Linked DNA regions of Homo sapiens: regions 2 and 3 are each linked to region 1. Evidence: promoter capture Hi-C in 16 types of primary human blood cells and fetal thymus (Javierre and others, 2016). All regions are on one chromosome and are shown on one strand. Each heading gives the region's core, a stretch centred on a gene start or on the middle of the fragment in contact. The rest is flanking DNA. Distances are from core to core; before and after follow the strand shown. Region 1 holds the start of SLC18A2 (solute carrier family 18 member A2). Region 2 overlaps RAB11FIP2 (RAB11 family interacting protein 2). Region 3 has its middle 9.4 kb from the start of LINC02944.

Region 1 (3,503 bases), core at 23-2,522:
GATTTCGATTATTTAATTTTTCAAAATTCCACTATAGGAAAAATAATAGAACCAAGATTGTTCAAATTGTTCTTGCAATGGTTCCTGAAATATTTCCATCTCAAGTCATTCACTAATACAGTATATCTAAATGTCTTGTTTTTGGAGTAAGGGATCGAAACTTGCTCTTTTAGGTACTACACCAAATTACTAACCTGCCTTTTCGAGTAGCCCAATAATTATTCTAACACGTAATTTTGAACTTTAGGAATTTCTCTTTTGGAACAGAAATCTTTTTCATCGCAGTGAAAGCAGGCAAGAGGATGCGGGAAATTATCAGGGGGAAACATAAGTTCTGGGTCTTATCGGATGTCACAGTTTTTGACCCGAGCATCAGGAAAGCGAAGCCACACAACGCGGCTCCTCCTAGCCCCGGCGCGGCAGCCTGGAGGGGATGTCTTTTTTGCAAAGCGAGTTCTCCAACTTTCCCGGGCCTTGGCGGAGCTCCGGGACCGCGCAGGGGTAAGTGGAGTGCCGGGGAAGGGGCGCTGGGGCTGGGGTGCCGGGGCAGGGGTGCCCTGTCCGCACGTACCCACGACAGTGAGCAGCATGTTGTCCAGCAGCAGCGCCAGGAACACGATGAACAGGATGAGCTTCCGCGAGCGGCGGCTCTCCTGCAGCCAGCGGACCAGCGCCAGCTCGCTCAGGGCCATGGCTCCGGGGCTCCGCTGCGGGCGCGGTGCGCGGTGAGGACCCAAGGCGGCCGTGGACCCCCCATTCTCCCGTCCCCCAGGCCGCGGAAGGGCGGGTCAGGGAGCCGCGCGCACCGGCATCCGGGGACACCCCCGGGCGCCCCAGCCTCGGCTCACCTGCCTCGAGCGCGTCCCCACGAGAGCCCGCGCTCCCTGGAAAGAGCGCCCGCGAGCGCCGTCGGGGACCCAATCTGGAGACCCAACCTAGAACCCCCAGGACGCTGCCCTGATCCCCGCCGCCCCCAACTGTGCCACCTCCCAAACTGCACGCTCGGCCCCGTGCACCTTGCGCCCTGCGCCCTGCGCCCCGGCTGCCCCGGGGTCCCCGCAGCCCCGCCCGCGTAGCTCTGGGGGCCTCCCTGCCTCCCTGCCTCCCCCGGGCCCGCTCCCCTCCGGCACCGCGCCCTGCGAGCAGGGAACCGGGGCCGTGTTACCTCGGGGTCGCTTGCGATGCCTGCCCGGGTCCTCCGTGCCCGCGCCAACGCCCGCACCGCAGTGGGCTCCGTCAGTCCGGGCGGCTCCGGGTCGCAGTCTCCGCCCCAGCGCCCCGCCGCCGCCGCTCAGTTTACCCCGTCCGGCTCTGACGTCACGGCCGGAGGGAGCGGGGGCGGGGGGCTGGGGCGCCCCGGCCTCCGCCCGCCCGCGCCGTCGCTGCGCAGGAGGGGCTGCCGCCTCCCTGTCCCCGCCTCGGCCGCGGCCGCGCCTCTTCCCCGGACCCAGCGCGTGGCCGAGTGCCTTGGGGACCCAGGCCTGGGGAAGAGGCAGGGGCGCAGAGGGAAAGAGGTCAGAGAGCCTGGACGAAGAGTGAAGGGCCAGGGACCAAGGCGAGGAGGCACGGACCAGGGCTTTCTTGTGGCTCCAAGTGGTGGCTCGAGCTGCTTTGAATAAATCACGTGGCTCTTTGAGCCTCAGTGTCCCTGAAATGGGCCGTGAGGACGGGAATGATGGCCGCGGGGTGAGATCGCCAGGGGTGACAGGTGCTGGGAGCCAGGGACAGGCTTCCCTTTCCTGAAGAAGCCACCCTTTGCACCCACCATCCCCTCCCCTCTCCGACCTCTGCAGCCCGATGCGGGGTGCCACTCGGAGGAGCCTTTGAGCCTTGGGCATCCTCAAGCTGGTGACTTGGAAACGGGGGGGGGAAGGGGACACTTTTCAGTGTCGCCCTATGGTGGGAGTTGGGGAGGTGAGGGTCCCAGGTCTCAGAAAGTGGGAGCAGTGGGTTTGGGCCTCTGGGGCCACCTGAGCAGGGGACCCTGGAGGCTAGGTGAGTACACCTGGCCTCAGAGAAAGGGCTAGGGGGCGGGCTGTGGGCGGGGCAGCAGGCCTAGGCCCTGTGTCCTGTACTCTCTCCCCACCATGCTGTGCCTGGGCGTCTGGGTGAGAGGTGGTTCCTAGAGCCAGGGGCCTGCGTGTGGCTGGTGCAGAGCTGTCATCCTCACTGCTAAGGGCTAAGAGCCTGCCTTTGATTTCCAGGTCCCTTTTATAAGCAAAGGAGAAACAAACAGATGCCCTCTGACATCGCTGGAGCTCTGCAGGCCCTCCGAGGGGACCGTGGGAGCAAGAGCTGTTTTCTTGAAAAGCTACCTAGAATAAATGTTACCCTGTCACAGTCTCTTAGCAGAAGAGTGGGCTTGTTTTATTAATGTTAGCTTGTTGACAGCAGGAGGCCACTGAGAACAGCAGTGTGATGTGTGGCTGCCCCCGCTCTCTCCACCTCCCTACTCCCTTGCAGAGACCCCCTGTGCTTCTCATTGCTACCCCATGTGTGAGAAGAGATGGTTGAATAGGTAAGTAGGTCAGGAACATGGGTCTCCAGGATGTCACAGGATGTGCACAACTTAAACATTAAACAGGGAGGACAGAAGGAAAACCACTTAGGAGGAGGAAGCAGATGGCAGAGAGCCGTTTAAGATGGCAGGAGGGTATCACTCAGGGAGTGCCCCAGAGTGCTTGCTCTGGAGTTTCAGAACCCAAGGATGCAGACTCTACCCCAGGGACCACATGGGGACAGAGAGGCATTATGGTAAAGGGTGCCTGCCAGGATGCCCAGGTCCCAGTCTGCTACTTCCTTGACTGGTGGCCTTGGGCTGGTTATGTATCCTCTTTGTGGCTTAGTTTCGCCATCTCTGGAATGGGGATACTCACTGGACCTACTGCAGCGTGGTTGTGAGAATTCCAGGGGAATGCATAGGCAGCTCTTAGCACAGTGCCTGGCACAAAGTGAGAGCTCCGTAAGTGCCGGCCCCTCATTCATGCGCTGAATATGTGTTGAGCTCTTACTACGTGCCAGGCACTATGGTTAATGCTGGGGAGACAGTAAAGCCTAGACAAATCCCTGCTGACATTCTGACCTGATAGCAGCATCATAGCAGTGAACACTGGAAGCCACACCAAACTCCAGCCCAGCCAGCTGGATGTAGATGGCTCCAGGGACAATGCCAGCCCGGCGTTCCCGCCTCCGGATCACTGTCACCACCCCTAGAGCACTATGGCCTATAACAGACTTTTTGTTGAAACCCCCTAAAAAATGTTTAACAATATGTTTGCCTTACACATTTTCAAGTTGGCATCTAAAATGAGTTTTTTAATCATATATTTAAATAGGGTATATTGTATTTATTGACCTTTATGTATAAAATTATTATCTCTCTCTTTTAAATATACCCAAAGGAATTTGTATAAGAATACAAAACTGCCATGTTATACTTAAGAATATAAACAAGTATCCCTTTAACAGTCAAAATATTTACATTGTGTTCTTTACCCCTTTTA
Region 2 (3,549 bases), core at 74-2,573, 790 kb before region 1:
ATCATCAAGGGCTCCTGGAGATTATTTTTTTTTAGCTACAATTTGTTGGGCCTCCCCTCTGACTGAATTAGAATCTTTAGTGAGTAGGCCCTGAAATGAAAATCAACATTTTAATAACTTCCCATTGACTATCGGGTTTAAAAATTGCTAATCTATATTATATCACCTACAGTGGTCCTCCTACTCTATGGGGATACATTCCAAGACCCCCAGTGGATTCCTGAAACCAGGCACAGTTCCGAACCCTATATATCCTGTGTTTTTTTTTCTATACATATATACCTATGATAAAGTTTAATTCATAAATTAGGCACAGTAAGAGAGTAACAATAATAATGAAATAGAACAATTACAACAATATGCCAGCATCACTCCTCTTGCACATTGGGGCCATTATTAAGTAAAATAAGGGCTACTCAAACACAAGCACTGTAATACTGCAATAGGCGACCTGATAGCCGAGATGGCTACTAAGTAACTAATGGGCAGGCAGTGTAGACAGTGTGGGTACACTGAACAAAGGGACTGAACAAAGGGATGATTCACATCCCAGGCAGTACAGAATCGGATGGCCTACCATGTCATGAGGCTACTCAGAAGGACACGCAAATTAAAACTTAGGAATTATTTCTGGAATTTTCCATTTAATATTTTTGGACTATGGTGGTTAACTGAAACTGTGGAAAGCAAAACCACAGATAAGGGGATGGGACTACTTTATTTCCTAAGCTTTCAGTAAGTATTCACTGTGAATGGAGATCAGGAATTGTGCTGGCAAATGCGTACTTAAATTAGACAACTTAGTCATATTAGCTCTGCTTGCAGGTCCCTAACTAAGGTAGAGGGTATAGTAAGGAAGTTAGCTTGGCTAAAACAGAGATATGGTGGAAAGGAGTAAAAGATATGGCTGAATAGGTTAAACACACACACACGCACGCACGCACCTAATGCACACACACACACCCTAAATTATAGTGAGCATTGAAGACCAGGCAGAAAAGTCTATTAAATATTTATGGCATCTATGAATGAATTGTTTCTCAGGATTGAGGTAAAACCTGAGAGTCAATAGTGATGAATGACGCTTAAAAATATGCTTCTATTTGTATGCTACCCATGGTAAATTGAGGAGAAATTCCATGATGTGTATTCTTTGAAGGAGGTGTAAGTTCCTTGAAAAATTTCAGGACCACAGAACTCCACCTACTGAAGGGAATTCTGCTTGAGAGAATAAGATTGAGAGAGTAAGATTTTCTGTCTGTTAGAGAAAATTGCTTATGTATGTCTTATTCTGAATTTTTTTAAAAAAATCAATATAAGCCTACTACTCTGTGTGATGAGTTTCTGTTGTTTGATGTTAGGGGGGCAGCTGTTCTGAGAGTAATAATTTAATGGGAGATATTTTTACCAGAGAATTTTGTTTGGGGACCGACCTTCTATTTGTGACTCATAGAAAGAACATGCTTTCACTCCATTATTTTCTGCTCTACTGTGGTAGTTGTGAATGCCATGTAGCAAATTCTTAACTACTCCTGAATAACTAAATGGTATGTTCTGTAATATTATTTCTAGTATTAATTGATTTTCCAAAGCATGTATTTCCATTTTTAATGTTTGGTGGAAGAGCCTCCCTCCTTTTTAGCAGATGATCTCACGCCAAATAGTTATATTTTAGGATGGTACAGAAATAGTATCTAAGATGCAGACTTGTAATGTTTTAGTGATTTTTCATGGCAGTGTGCCTTCCACTTCTGAGGTCAGGTCTACCTGATTCTCCCCCTCTTCCTTCTTTCCTTCCTTAATGAGTCAATTCCTGTCTGTGCTTGTATCATACCTTCCTCAGGAGGTACAAAAAAATTGGTTACCTGGAATGTATATTTAAATGTCTTTCTAATTTTCAAATCACCATAAGCTTGTAAGCATGTAGCCATTTTTATGAAATTGTGTAACATGTTCATTAAAAGTCAAAGACTGTTTACTGTAGAATTTACATTTTGATTTTTAAAAAGTATAGTAAATAAATGATCCTAAAGAAAAAGAGCCTATTGATAGTTTTTAAACCTTCATTTTTATAATGTCCCAATGGACTTTTTTTTCCTGAATGAGTTTAAAGTTCAGTCGTTGGCATCATAAACCTTAATATGCAAAGGATTTGTTTTAATAGCAATATTTACTTTTTGCTCATATTTGTCTAGTGTTAAAGATAATTTGCCTGTTATTCATGGTAGGCTATAAATCTTTTACACACTTGAAAATTTGTGGCTTCATTTATGAGACAGAAGACAAAAACTTTTGAGATGATTTTTAGACCCATTAATCCATTAGTGCTCAGAGATTTACAGAATGTATCCAATGAAACAATGACTATAAACACGAAGTATGCAACGTGATTAGTTCCCTTAACACTAACTAGAACTTTTATGTTTAACTCCCCAGATACTACTTGAAACTTTTTTACCCTTTGTCATCCTAATACTCATTATAATAGCTCTCATTAATTGGTGTATCTCCCAGTGGGTTAATTTGCAGATACCAGCGATGCCATCCTTGTGCTAACTCTAATGCAAATTGATATTTAGAGTCTTCAAAATTGAAAACAAAAAAAGCTCTGTAACAAAAAAGACAAACTTTGCTGGTTTTTTTTTTTTCTTGAGAGATTGAGATATAGCAAGATTCTGAGAGAGAAGAAAACAGGCCAAAAAAATTCACAAAAACTAGTGTAGGCTAATAAACTGATGTGAAAATTTCTCAATTTACAGCACTTGACAGGTGCTAAAAGAAAAGCATCTTTAATTTTAATGTGTTGTTAGGACCTCTTTAGAGAGACTGTACAAGTTATTAACAAGGTCCTCTGAGACAGGAGACGGGTAATTAACAAGACCTATGGAGATATAGTTTAGGTAATTAACGAGCTCTTAGGCACTGGACACTGGATAACACGTAGCGAGTCCAATACTTAAAGAGAACAAGTTGTTATGATATGATCAAATATAAGATACAGCATGTAAGCCCTCTTGAGGTTTCTGATAGGAAAGTAGTAAGATTGTATTCCAGTGACCCCAGTGCACTGACTATTGTAAATCAGCATGTAAGGTTTTTGGTTTAACTTTTAAGGTAGCATTTGAGAGAATTATTTTTAATTGTTGTTACATGTAGATTAATAATCTTTGCTAATTGCCATTAATGAACATGTGTATTTTGAGAAAAATGCATTGGAAGCACATCAGTTGTATGATTCTAAATTGTCTTAAACATTTATTTTCAGTTTATTTTTTACCTGTGACTTGTCGGCTAAAATTGCCTATTGCAAATTAACCTTGCTTTCCTTGTCTACTTTAAAACAGTCAGGATCTAGGCCAGCGAGGAGATGTGGCCCTGGCACCAGTTTGGTTTTTACATGTTATGCCCAGGTTCCTCCAGTCATGCCCCTATGCTACCTTCAAGTCTGAGATTTTATATTCCCAACTTCAAATATTTGGTCCAGTTATTTCCTGTGTAAATTTGAAATTTCTGAAGTATGAATCTTGAGTTTTGGCTCAGAAAATTCCC
Region 3 (3,900 bases), core at 1,049-3,548, 990 kb before region 1:
CCTAAGTGGCCAACCCAGAGGCTGCAGCAGAGCTGTGATTCTCGGGCTCCTCCAAATGCTGACAACACAGGTTCAAGTCCTGCTGACACATGGTGATACGGTTTGGCTGTGTCTCCACCCAAATCTCATCTTGAATTGTAACTCCCACAATTCCCACGTGTTGTGGGAAGCACCTGGTGGGAGGTGATTGAATTATGGGGGCGGGTCTTTCCTGCACTGTTCTGATAGTAAATGAGTCTCACGAGATCTGATGGTTTTAAAAATGGGAGTTTCCCTGCAGAAGCTCTCTTTTTGCCTGCCGCCATCCGTGTAAGATGTGACTTGTTCCTCCTTGCCTTCCGCCATGATTGTGAGTCCTTCCCAGCCATGTGGAACTGTAAGTCCATTAAACTTCTGTTTGTCATTTACCCAGTCTTGGATGTGTCTTTATCAGCAGTGTGAAAACGGACTAATACACAAGGGGAAGACCCCTGACCCTCAGCACCCATCTGTGAGACTCAGACACCAGTCATGGGGCTTAGCCAAGGTGCTAAAACTTGGGACAGATGAAGCCCTGCCCATTGTCTTCCCCTACCAAGGATCAAGAACAAAATTCCCTCCTGTTTTGCACTCTCAGTGACCCCATCCACCAGACAACCAGATATGAATTCAGTTGTGCTTCTTGCAGTCATTTTCCAACTCCAGAGACCGTCATACTTTTTCTTAAGTTATGCCTGTTGACCCAATAATTCTGTCTGAGTCATTTTTTTCTAGGGAAATATTCTGAGTACAGAAGAGCTAGTATACACAAAGATGTGTACAGAAGCATCATGTAGAACAGTGAGAAATCAGAAATCACCAAAATGTTCAACCATTAAATAATGGTTGGATAAATTATGGTCTATCCCTTCAAAGGAATAGTTCATGGCTGTGTGATGCCTTAGAATGATCTTTTTATATCTCTCAGTTATCTAGTTAATAAGCTTTGGTCTTATTAACAATTCTTTATATTAAATTATCTCTGTTTAAATAGCTGGAGTGACTTCTGTCACTCAGGTAAGATTGCAAATTTCCAACTGCAAATACCCCTGAACCCTCACCATGCTACTTCTTTTACTTCACAGAAAAAGTAGACGCCTTCAGCTGAGAATTACCCATTTCTCACAATCCACACATATAAATGTACCCACATCTGTTCTCTTCTCTCACATCCTTTTCTGTTTTACAATAATTAAAGCCGTCTCTCCTCCTGTTTAAAAGGCTGTCCTAACTGTGTGCTTTTGAGTCCCTCTTCCTCCTGTCCTCTGAGCAAATGCACACTATTGACTAATATCCATTTCCTCTCGTATATTCAACATTTTCTCAAATGGATCCTGTCTATTGGATTTTAAATATGTGCAAATCTCACGGAATAAAAATAATCCATCCTGAATTCCCACCCCCCAACCAGCTACCATCCCCTCTGAACAACCAAACCTCTTTAAGAGATGTCCCTTGGGAGGCTGAGGCGGGTGGATCACTGCCAGGAGGTCAGGAGTTCGAGACCAGCCTGGCCAACATAATGAAAACCTATCTCTATTAAAAATACAAAAAAATTAGCTGGGCATGGTGGCGGGTGCCTGTAATCTCAGCAACTCAGGAGGCTGAGGCAGGAGAATCGCTTGAACCCGGGAGGCGGAGGTTGCAGTGAGCTGAGATCACGCCACTGCACTCCAGCCTGGGCAACAAGAGCAAAAAACTCTGTCTCAAAAAAAGAAAAAAAAAGAGATATCCCAACTCATTGTCTCCATTTTTCCCCTTTCCACCTAGTCCTCGGTCTACTGCAATCCAGTTTCTGGTCTTAGCAGTCTGCTCATGCACCCATGGGTCACATGCAATGGTTATTTTGAGGGAAGTCTTCAGTGTTTCTGCCTCTCTGGCTGCCTCAGACACTGTGGCTTGTGTGGCACAGGCTATCTCTAGTCAGAGACACTTCCCACAGGTAGGATTTTACATTTACACCTGGGGTTGATGGGTTGATGTTGGTCTCCCCACAAGTTGTATGTTCCAAGCAATCAGGGCGTGTACCTACCTTGCTCTCTGCTTCAACTCTCAGGGCCTGTCTCTTTCTTAAGATAGGTAAGCATTTGTTGAATGAGTGAATTAATGAGTTTGAACTGGGGACCACTGCTCTCGGGATGTTACTCTCTCAATCCCTTTACACCAAGTTTGGGCCATAATCCTGGAAGATATCACTCCAAACTCCATAATCCCAAATATTGGAATCCTGAAATATCAAAATTCCAGAAATACAATTCAGAAAAATAAAAATTTCCTTAAAAGATGTTCATTTACATTTTTGAAGGGGGATTTATTTGAGAAAAATATAAAACATGACAATACTTTATACACCACTTTAAACAGTAAAATAGTCAATAATAACATATATATTTTTGCAAGCATAAATATTCGAGTGCTAAAGACAGTCACATGGATATAACAGTTGCGAGCAGATGAACCATATTCATAAAGGAATAGGTCAAAAGGAAAATGTAAAAACCCAATTGCACCCAGCTTTGTAACTGCAGTCATCTGAAATACCTTGACAACAACCTAAGTCTTTGACAAGATCAAAAACCGCAAGGAATCACTACCGCATATGCAGTCATCTAAAGAGATGAGACATGGAGAAATTTCATCTTTCACAAATGCAGATGTACAAAAAAGACAACTCTTCATTTGTTGAGGAAATTTCAGTGTTTTTGCGCACATACATAATGCTTACACACAAGGTCAGTATCATGATGATGCACTTTCATGGAGTCAAATTTGCAAAAATTGCATAAAGCAAAGTAGAACTCTAAAAGTCTTTATAGAGTTTATACCTCCAGTATTGGAAATAATGCCAGGATGAAATACATAGCATAATGAGTTATAAAAAAAAATACCAACAATTTAAAATAGTGGTGGGGGGGGGGGAGGGACAAGAAAATAACACAACCCCTTTCCCCAAAAACTAAAAAGAAAATTTGACATATGCAAAAGTGCATTACAGGGATAGGTTATGGGCAATTAATTTCAGAGGTAGTCCATAAAAACTGGCTGGTGTTCATGATCATTGACAATATTTTGAAGGCTTATATCTTGATGAATAGCTGCTTTTTCCTTTTTAGGGCATGGGTCCTCAGAAAATATGTTCCCATCCATTTTCTATGTAGCATTGCTCTTTTTGAAATTCTTCTGTGATTCGATATACACTGACATGAAACTTCCCTATTACATTTTCCCATTTTTTGTTCTATGCTTCTATGTTGTTTTGTATGTATGTATCTACGCATGTGGAAATCCATTCCCCATGTTCTTGTATACAGGCCACAGATCTGGCAGAAACGATACAGGTGATGGGACGGCAACACCATTGGGAAAGTCACTTCTTATCCTACCAAACACATAATTATTTTCCAACCAGTTAGTAACTTTGTTGTCTTCTTCAGGCAAATGCAGCTTTAGTTCATCAGACAGCTCCCAGAACTTCATCAGTTGGAAGGAATGCCAATGCAGATAAATGATGGCATGACATCCCTTTGTTGGTTGAAGCAGTCATAGAAGCCATATGGATTTAACAGAAGGGAACAGTAATTCTACTTCTGGATGTGAGGAGGGCGATAAAAGCTTCACTTCAATGTATCATAATCAGCTACATCAGAATTATTATCTTTCAATGCTTTGAAGTATTTTTATTTTTATGTATGTATGTATGTATGTATGTATTTATTTATTTATTTATTGAGACAAAGTCTCGCTCTGTCGCCCAGGCTGGAGTACAGCGGCGTGATCTCGGCTCACTGCAACCTCTGCCTCCCGGGTTCAAGTGATTCTCCTGCCTCAGCCTCCTGAGTAGCTGGGACCACTGGCGCGCACCACCATGCCTGGCTAATTTTT

The links. The method cuts DNA at HindIII sites, captures the fragments that hold promoters and counts their contacts. A CHiCAGO score of 5 or more calls a contact.
Region 2: a fragment that was not itself captured here is called in contact with the fragment with the promoter of SLC18A2 in region 1 in 1 of 17 cell types (neutrophils); the score reaches 5.4 in neutrophils.
Region 3: a fragment that was not itself captured here is called in contact with the fragment with the promoter of SLC18A2 in region 1 in 2 of 17 cell types (total B cells and naive CD8 T cells); the score reaches 5.5 in total B cells.

Annotation. Positions count from the first base shown.
Region 1 is chr10:117,238,883-117,242,385 of GRCh38, reverse strand. SLC18A2 (solute carrier family 18 member A2) reads right to left here and starts at 1,272. Exons shown (of 16, transcript NM_003054.6): 1 at 1,166-1,272; 2 at 572-707. The coding sequence starts at 692. It overlaps SLC18A2-AS1 (SLC18A2 antisense RNA 1), which reads left to right and starts at 389. Exons shown (of 3, transcript NR_184310.1): 1 at 389-501; 2 at 603-725; 3 at 2,205-3,503. The HindIII fragment of the contact is 8,499 bases long and covers 1-3,503 here.
Region 2 is chr10:118,029,796-118,033,344 of GRCh38, reverse strand. All of the region lies in intron 3 of RAB11FIP2 (RAB11 family interacting protein 2), which reads left to right. Among named protein-coding and RNA genes, the nearest start is that of CASC2, 15 kb to the left of the region's middle. The HindIII fragment of the contact is 1,183 bases long and covers 732-1,914 here.
Region 3 is chr10:118,230,131-118,234,030 of GRCh38, reverse strand. No RefSeq gene overlaps it. Among named protein-coding and RNA genes, the nearest start is that of LINC02944, 9.4 kb to the left of the region's middle. The HindIII fragment of the contact is 2,668 bases long and covers 965-3,632 here.